Regions from separate parts of the Homo sapiens genome. Here all the other regions are linked to region 1. Evidence: promoter capture Hi-C in 16 types of primary human blood cells and fetal thymus (Javierre and others, 2016). All regions are on one chromosome and are shown on one strand. Each heading gives the region's core, a stretch centred on a gene start or on the middle of the fragment in contact. The rest is flanking DNA. Distances are from core to core; before and after follow the strand shown. Region 1 holds the start of PPARD (peroxisome proliferator activated receptor delta). Region 2 overlaps FKBP5 (FKBP prolyl isomerase 5). Region 3 has its middle 11 kb from the start of LINC03135.

Evidence for each region. The method cuts DNA at HindIII sites, captures the fragments that hold promoters and counts their contacts. A CHiCAGO score of 5 or more calls a contact.
Region 2: a contact is called between a fragment that was not itself captured here and the fragment with the promoter of PPARD in region 1, in 2 of 17 cell types (naive CD4 T cells and total CD8 T cells). The highest score is 5.7, in naive CD4 T cells.
Region 3: a contact is called between a fragment that was not itself captured here and the fragment with the promoter of PPARD in region 1, in 8 of 17 cell types (total CD8 T cells, non-activated CD4 T cells, naive CD4 T cells and 5 more). The highest score is 9.5, in total CD8 T cells.

The regions. Positions count from the first base shown.
Region 1 is chr6:35,341,308-35,343,875 of GRCh38, forward strand. It overlaps PPARD (peroxisome proliferator activated receptor delta), which reads left to right and starts at 1,251. Exons shown (of 8, transcript NM_006238.5): 1 at 1,251-1,374. RefSeq lists silencers at 1,103-1,312, 1,493-1,632, 1,663-1,712. The HindIII fragment of the contact is 7,732 bases long and covers 545-2,568 here.
Region 2 is chr6:35,571,718-35,574,285 of GRCh38, forward strand. FKBP5 (FKBP prolyl isomerase 5) reads right to left here. Exons shown (of 11, transcript NM_004117.4): 11 at 1,873-2,568. Among named protein-coding and RNA genes, the nearest start is that of LINC03135, 29 kb to the left of the region's middle. The HindIII fragment of the contact is 3,206 bases long and covers 1-2,568 here.
Region 3 is chr6:35,553,680-35,556,247 of GRCh38, forward strand. It overlaps the pseudogene RPS15AP19. Among named protein-coding and RNA genes, the nearest start is that of LINC03135, 11 kb to the left of the region's middle. The HindIII fragment of the contact is 1,745 bases long and covers 418-2,162 here.

The DNA.
Region 1 (2,568 bases), core at 1-2,500:
GGAGGTTGACATCTAAGTTACAAATATAATGCACAAGCATTTCAAAAAGTAGGGGAAAAAAAAGAAAAAGAAAAAGAGAAGCAGAAAGAAGGGGGAAAAAATCACTCATCCCTGCCAGGCACGGTGGCTCACGCCTGTAATTCCAGCACTTTGGGAGGCTAAGGTGGGAGGATAACTTGAGTCCAGGAGTTCAAGACCAGCCTGGGCAACATGGCAAAACCCTGTCTCTACTAAAATTACAATAATTAGCTGGGCGTGTGGCGCATGCCTGTAATCCCAGCTACTTGGGAGGTTGAGGCAGGATAATCGCTTGAACCCGGGAGGCGGAGGTTGCAGCGGGCTGAGATTGCGCAACTGCACTCCAGCAGGGGCGACAGAGTGAAACTGTGTCTCAAAAAAAAAAAAAAAAAAAAAAATCACTCATCCAGATAGCTAGGTGTGGCCTAAGGAGCTTGCGGCCTACGGAAGGTGTGGCCGAAGGAGAGGGGAGGGGTCATCTTTAATGATGATGGAGGGGAGGCATTGGTCATATACCTGAGAGTCAAGCTTTGTTCATCGTCAGATGAAAGCCAACTTCTTCCACCAGATTGCCTCCCAGCTGCTAGGTAGTTTCCTGTGGTACATCTTAAGCGGTAGGTTGGGATAATAGGTCCCTTCCAGGTCTTAAAGATGTGGATTAATAAGAACAGAATTTTCTACAACAATAAGGAGGATGTCCCCTATTTTAGGTGAATAAGCGTATTGCATAAGCACATGGGAAGAAAGGTTAAGAACTCTAAGACCGTAAATTTCCAGTTGTAGAAGCCTCTTGAAGGCGGAAAGCCCTTTTTTGAAAATTATAGGCGATATGATCTCCTCCAGTGGACCTAGCACTGGGTTAAGAGTCTCTCCAGACTTGTCACTGCAAGTCACGTACCTTTTCTAGGACTAAGTTTCTTCACTGGAAGATGAGGAGGTTGCACTAGATGACCTAGAAATTCCCTTCCAGCTTTAAATTCCCTCTTGTGTCACTTGCTGGACTTGTTCTACTGGACCTGGCGCTCCCCTGCTCCTCCCTTAGCTGCTACGTCCGCATCCCGCACCAGAGGGCGCCACAGGCTGGCCCGGGGCAGCGTGCGGTGGGCGGAGAGGCAGAATTAGGGGAGTCTCCAGGAGGCGTGGTGATTGGCCGCCGCCGGGCGGAAGGGGGCGTGGGGAGGGAAAGGCCGAGCAGCGCGGTGACGTCTCGCTGGCGGGGGCGGGGCCGGGCCGCGGAGCGTGTGACGCTGCGGCCGCCGCGGACCTGGGGATTAATGGGAAAAGTTTTGGCAGGAGCGGGAGAATTCTGCGGAGCCTGCGGGACGGCGGCGGTGGCGCCGTAGGCAGCCGGGACAGGTCAGTCCGAGACGAGAGAAGCGGTCAGGCAAGTGGCGGAGGGAAGCGCCGGGCCTGGGCCGAGGCGGCCAGCGGGACTGGGGCGCAAGGCCCGGCGGCGGGGAACGGGGTGCGGGGAGCTGCCGGGGTCCGCGGACAGCGTCACGGCGGCTTCCTGATGCTCCGGCCCGCTCCGGTCAGCCGTCGTGCGTTGCCATGTAGGCGCCCCGCTGACCCTGCGCCCCCCCGCCCTTGGACCCCCATAGCTGCTTGAGTGAGTCCGAAATACGGGCCTCCTTCCACCCTACTCTTTGCCCCCTCTTGGGCCTGGTGGCTTCGTCTTCTCCCACTTGTGAGAACCCCGTCTCAGGCCCGGGGGCCTCTCCCATTCCCCTCCCCTGCCTCTGACCTCTTCCTTCACCCGTTTCTGGTGTTCCTGAATCCACTGCCCTATCTAGCGAGAGTCTTCTCTGGGATCTTTTCCTCTGTCCCCCTCGTTATCCTTGTCTCCTGCCTTCATCCTCCCATCCTTGCTCTCTCAGGCTTTACTCTCTCTCCCCATCCCTGTCCCCTTCTTATCTGTGGTCTGATCCCTCCTAGTATTATGGGTCCCCATCCTCTTCCCCAGGGTGTTCCTAGGCTTTTTCCAACTCCGTGCCTGCAGTCCCTGTCTCCCTAAGACTCTCACCTTGGTTCCCTGAGAGGCCCTGTTTTTGCTCCTTTTTCCGATTTCCTTCGTATCAATTCTGTCCCCTACATTCCTGTCGCCCACCTCCTTTTCTCTCCCTGTTCCTTTCCCCTGCTTCAGGGAGAAGCCTTAGCTCCACACTCTACTCTACTTTCACTTGACCTGCAGTTGACATAACCATGGGGTGGGGGTGGAGGTGTTCAGACCTTGATCGAATTAAGAGGCTGATTGACTAAAGGAAATAACAGATTGTGTGGGAGAATGTACGTGGGTGTTGCATCAGAGATGATGTCCAATTTGTAGGCCATTCTTCTTATCTCAGCTTTAATACTTCCCCTTTATGGGGCTGTTGACTTCCAGGAACCCTTGGGGGAGACGGCGCTGAGCTGGATGTGTGCCACGGGTAGCCGGAGGCTTTGTCCAATTCTTTTCCCCTTCCAGGAACCGGGGTTTTGTGTCTTTCCACTCTGGATGTGTGGAATACACTTATACCATGATACCCCAGCCTCTCTCTGCCCTCACTCCCA
Region 2 (2,568 bases), core at 40-2,539, 230 kb after region 1:
TGCAGTTACCCAAACAAGATGCTGTCAAAAATCTTAAGAGTTGTATTTAACGCTGTCTCTTTCTTGCCGTGTATTATTAAGGTCACACGTGGAGATTCTGGGCAATTACAGATAGTGCCTTCTCCTCCCACAGAAATCTCCATGTCAGACATGTAGTAGAGAAAAATCTGAAGGGAAGTACTGAAGGTCTACCAAAACTTTTCAAGCCATCAGAGAATGTCCTTTTATGTACTTTCGTCAGTCACTGTCATTCAGATGCATAAGTAGCCAGCTGATGGAAAAAATACACAGCTGGGTTGGGGAATTCTGAGTTTCAGGATTTTGACTAACTGGCTCAAATTCAATGCGTTTTGTCACCAATACTGGAGATAGTCTCCAGCCCCAGAGAATACAGGCTTCACATGTACCATACTAAAAGTGGAGTTCAGTGTGCTGCTAAGGCCAAGTAAGTATAGACAAAGCCCTTCACTGGCAGTCCTCGTTTTGGAGGTTGTGCAAGCTGCCTCTGAATTTCTGAGATCACACATTTACAGCCAGGAATCTTCTCTGGCTCATCCTCAAGATCCCTAGGGTGATCATTATTTTCTTACAAAAAAAAAGCACGCAAATAAAGGGAATTTATTATGGTTGAGATAGGGTCTTGCTCTGTCACCCAGGCTGGAGTGCAGTGGCATGATCATGGCTCACTGCAGCCTCAACCTCCCAGGGCTCAAGTGATCCTCCCACCTCAGCCTGTAACTGGGCCTAAAGGTGCATACCATCATGTCTGTCTAATTTTTGTACTTTTTGTAGAGACAGGGTCTTGCCATGTTGCCCAGGCTGGTCTCGAACTCCTGGGCTCAAGCAACCTGCCCACCTCGGCCTCCCAAAGTGCTGGGGTTATAAGCATAAGCAACCGCACCTAGCTAGGAATTTATTTCATTACCAAATAATTTAACAGGGAGGAGGGAGAAATATAATTCAAATCCAGAGATGAAGCCAAGAATTCAGAGGGAATAAAGGGTGCCTAGAACCTGCATCAACCTGTCTGTAGACCTCAGAGGTCCTACTAAGTACCTTCCAGCACTGTGCCACCTTCTTTTGCAGTGTGAAAATGAGGATTTGCAGTATATGTGACATCTCCTTAGGCCTTGAGAGTCTGTGATGATGAGTATTGATGATATATGCTACTTAAGAAAGAAAATGCATGCTCAATATGGACCACCACCTTAGATAGCCTTACTTATGTTTCATATATTTATTAAAGGGCACAATTAAATTTTATTTTGCAAGTCGAGCCTACCTTAAAATCAGCTTAAAAAGGTGAAATATCCGCTGGCTAATGAAAAAACAAAACCTTTTTATTTTTCCCATTACTTGGTTCTTTTTAGCAACGATGCATTGTTCTGCCACTTTCACCCCAATGTTGGTTTCAGGTTCACCTTAGAGCAAAGTGTAGGATGATACTGTCCATTGCCGATTTTCTGATTTTTTTTTTTTTTTTTTTTTTTTGAGACCAAGTCTCACTGTCACCCAGGCCAGAGTGCAGTGGCACAATCTTGGCTCACTGCAACTTCCACTTCCCAGGTTCAAGTGATTCTCCTGCCTCAGCCTCCTGAGTAGCTGGGATTACAGGTGTGCACCACCACACCTGGCTAATTTTTGTATTTTTAGTAGAGACAGGGTTTTACCACATTGGCCAGGCTGGTCTCAAACTCCTGACCTCAGGTGATGCACCTGCCTTGGCCTCCCAAAGTGCTGGGATTACAGGCATGAGCCACTACGCCTGACCTCTCTGATGTCTAATTTCTTCAAGTTGGCCCCCACCATGGTTTTTTAACCAATATAGCTTTCCCTGAAAATCACTTAAGCAAAACCAAAAACAATGGGAAGTCACATTTTTTTTGGATTTATTTAAAGAACACACAAAAAAGTGCATCTAAATGATTTTTTTTTTTTAAAAACAATGTCTTTAATTCCTCATATGCTGACTTGGCAATCCATATGCAGCCTAAAAGGTGGTTGAAAGATGTCTGTGGACTTCTACACAAATTGTTTAAGATTATTGAATTTGATACAAGAATACGTGAAGTGTCTTCTTGAGTGGTAATGGGCACCCTGTAGTTATTTGCTCAGAACCACTCACACACCCTTCCCCTCCCCACACACACTTTTGCCAGTTCCCCCTGGTGAACCATAATACACACGTGGGAGACAGCTGGCATCATCTGAGTCTTGGAATAGCTTTCTTGTTTGTTATCTGCAAAAAGCTAGGTGGCCTTTTTAGTATCAAATTTCAATCTTGGCCTCACTGGAACCATGCTCTACAGAGCTTTCCCAACAGTTTAGCAAGTAAGCAAAATCAGCTTTTGCTCTTCATATTTCGTAGGTGAGACTGGGGCTTTTAAAAGAAATATTTCATAAAAAAGACAAAAGCATAAATGAGAAATTAGAGGGATTTTAGTTATCATTAAAGGAAAAAACTCACAAATTGATCCCATTTGTTCCATGGGGAAGAAAAGTATTATAAAAGGAAATAACTTGATTTTTAGGTTTGAAGGGGGTCCCAATCTAATAATAAAAGTCTTT
Region 3 (2,568 bases), core at 40-2,539, 210 kb after region 1:
CCATGTTGCTTCTCATGATTTTTGAGAGGAGGGAGGAAAATGCTAATTTTATTCTACCATACACAAACCAGAAGTCCAAAAAAAACAATTTTTTTCTTTTTTTGAGACAGGGTCTTGCTCTGTCGCCCAAGCTGGAGTGCAGTGGTATGCTCTGGGCTCACTGTAACCTCTGCCTCCCAAGTTCAAGCGATTCTTGTGCCTCAGCCTCCGAAGTAGCTGGGATTACAAGCACAGGCCACCATACCGGGCTATTTTTGTATTTTTAGCAGAGACGGGGTTTCATCATGTTGGCCAGGCTGGTCTTGAACTCCTGACCTCAGGTGATCCACCCACCTCAGCCTCCCAAGGTGTTGGGATTACAGGCGTGAGCCACTGTGCCTGACCCAACAAAAACAATTTTGAAGAGGAACAAGAATAAGCTTTCACCACCAGCTATCATGATTAAAACTATGGTCTTGGCACATGGATAGCTGTGTGTCTTTGTCCCTCTTTATCCATCCTAATGGAACAGAATTGGCAGCCTAGAAAGAAATCCAACGGGTGCAGGAGTTTGGCTCTGACAGAGGTGGCATAACAAACCATGAAGGAAAGAATGGACTAAGCGGTACGTGGTGCTGAAAAAGCTAATATTAGATCCTTACCTTCCACCATACAAAGTACATTCTAGACTAAATACCTACACAGTGTCCGTTTAAATATAGAGGCCCTGGCCGGGTGCAGTGGCTCACACCTATAATCCCAGCACTTTGGGAAGCCGAGGCGGGCGAATCACTTGAGGTCAGGAGTTTGAGACCAGCCTGGTCAACATGGTGAAACCCTGTCTCTACTACAGATACAAAAATTAGCCAGGTGTGGTGGCACACACCTGTAATCCCAGCTACTTGGGAGGCTGAGGCAGAAGAATTGCTTGAACCCAGGAAGCAGAGGTTGCAGTAAGCTGAGATCACACCATTGCACTCCAGCCTGGGCAACAGGCTCCATCTCAAAATAAATAAGTAAAAATAAATAAAAAATAAAAATGGTGGGCCTAACATACACTCTTCTCCCCATGGAAGCCCCTTTCCTCTGAAAAGACAGTAAAGGAATTTAAGAAGTATCAAGCCAAAAGGACAAAGGGAATGAACAGGACAGGAGAGAGCAGCACACAGCGCTGGCAGAATTTTAGAAGCTGGAAAGGGGATGGCTGGAGGGTGACAGAGTCAGCAGCAGGGAGAAGGTGGCACCAAGTATGCAGAGGACCTGGCCAGCCAAAAGGAAGTGGGTTTGTAACGCAGAGCCTGCGCAAGGCAGTAGGTGCTTCTGAAGGGGGGTGTTCAGCATGGGGCTGAAAGAGAGGAGAAGCTGAAAGTCTTCCAGAGACCACTCCCATTACATGCAGCCAGGCAGCTGCCCCTCCCTGCTCCAAGCGGAACACTGGCCTCTTCTCTGGCAAGGCTGTGCCATATACATGTTCAACTTGGTGACCTTGGCAACCCCAGACTCAGCTGAGGATGGAGGGAGGTAACAGCCTGGAAAGAGCATGGGTGAGTGGATGCTGACTTCCAGGAAAATTCCTCTCTGGGGAAATGGACCAGCTCAAGAGGAAAAAGCCACAGAGACTTCCATTCTGGGGCTTCCCAATAACCTTTCTTTTCTTTTTTCTTTTTTTATTAATAGAGACAGGTTCTCGCTGTGTTGCCTAGACTGGCCTTGAACTCCTGGGCTCAAGCGATCCCCCTGCCTTTGCCTCCTAAAGTGCTGGGATCACAGGTGTGAGCCACCTTGCCCAGCCCCCAATAACCTTTCATATGACAAGTTGCTAAGCCTCACCTAGAATCAAGGACATAGAAATCAAAGCAACAGTGAGATATAATGTCCCATAAAATTGGAAAAAGTTAATGGATTTTCTAAAACCAAATGGTGGTAAATATGTGGGAAACCTGAACTCATACTCACGCTGATGGTTTTTGGTAAACTAGTACAACTACTTGGGAGTTTGTCAATACCTAGTGAAGTTGCAGATGCTTAGACCCTATGTCGACTTTCATACATGGACACAAGGAGACAGGTGTACAAGGATATGTGTCGTAGCACTGTTCACAATAGTAAAAATGTGGGAACAACCTAACTGTGCCCCAAGAATGGAATGAATATAGTTGATAAGTTGTCTCTTAAAAAAAAAAAGCTTTTCCGCCATCTTCCCACGACGCCACCATGGTGTGCGTGAACGTCCTGGCCGATGCTCTCAAGAGCATCAACAATGCCGAAAAGAGAGGCAAACGCCCAGTGCTTATTAGGCCGTGCTCCAAACTCATCGTCCGGTTTCTCACTGTGATGATGAAGCATGGTTACATTGGCGAATTTGAAATCATTGATGATCGCAGAGCTGGGAAAATTGTTGCGAACCTCACAGGCAGGCTAAACAAGTGTGGAGTGATCAGCCCCAGATTCGGTGTGCAACTCAAAGATCTAGAAAATGGCAGAATAATCTGCTTCCATCCCACCAGTTTGGTTTCATTGTACTGACAACCTCAGCTGGCATCATGGACCATGAAGAAGCAAGACGAAAACACACAGGAGGGAAAATCC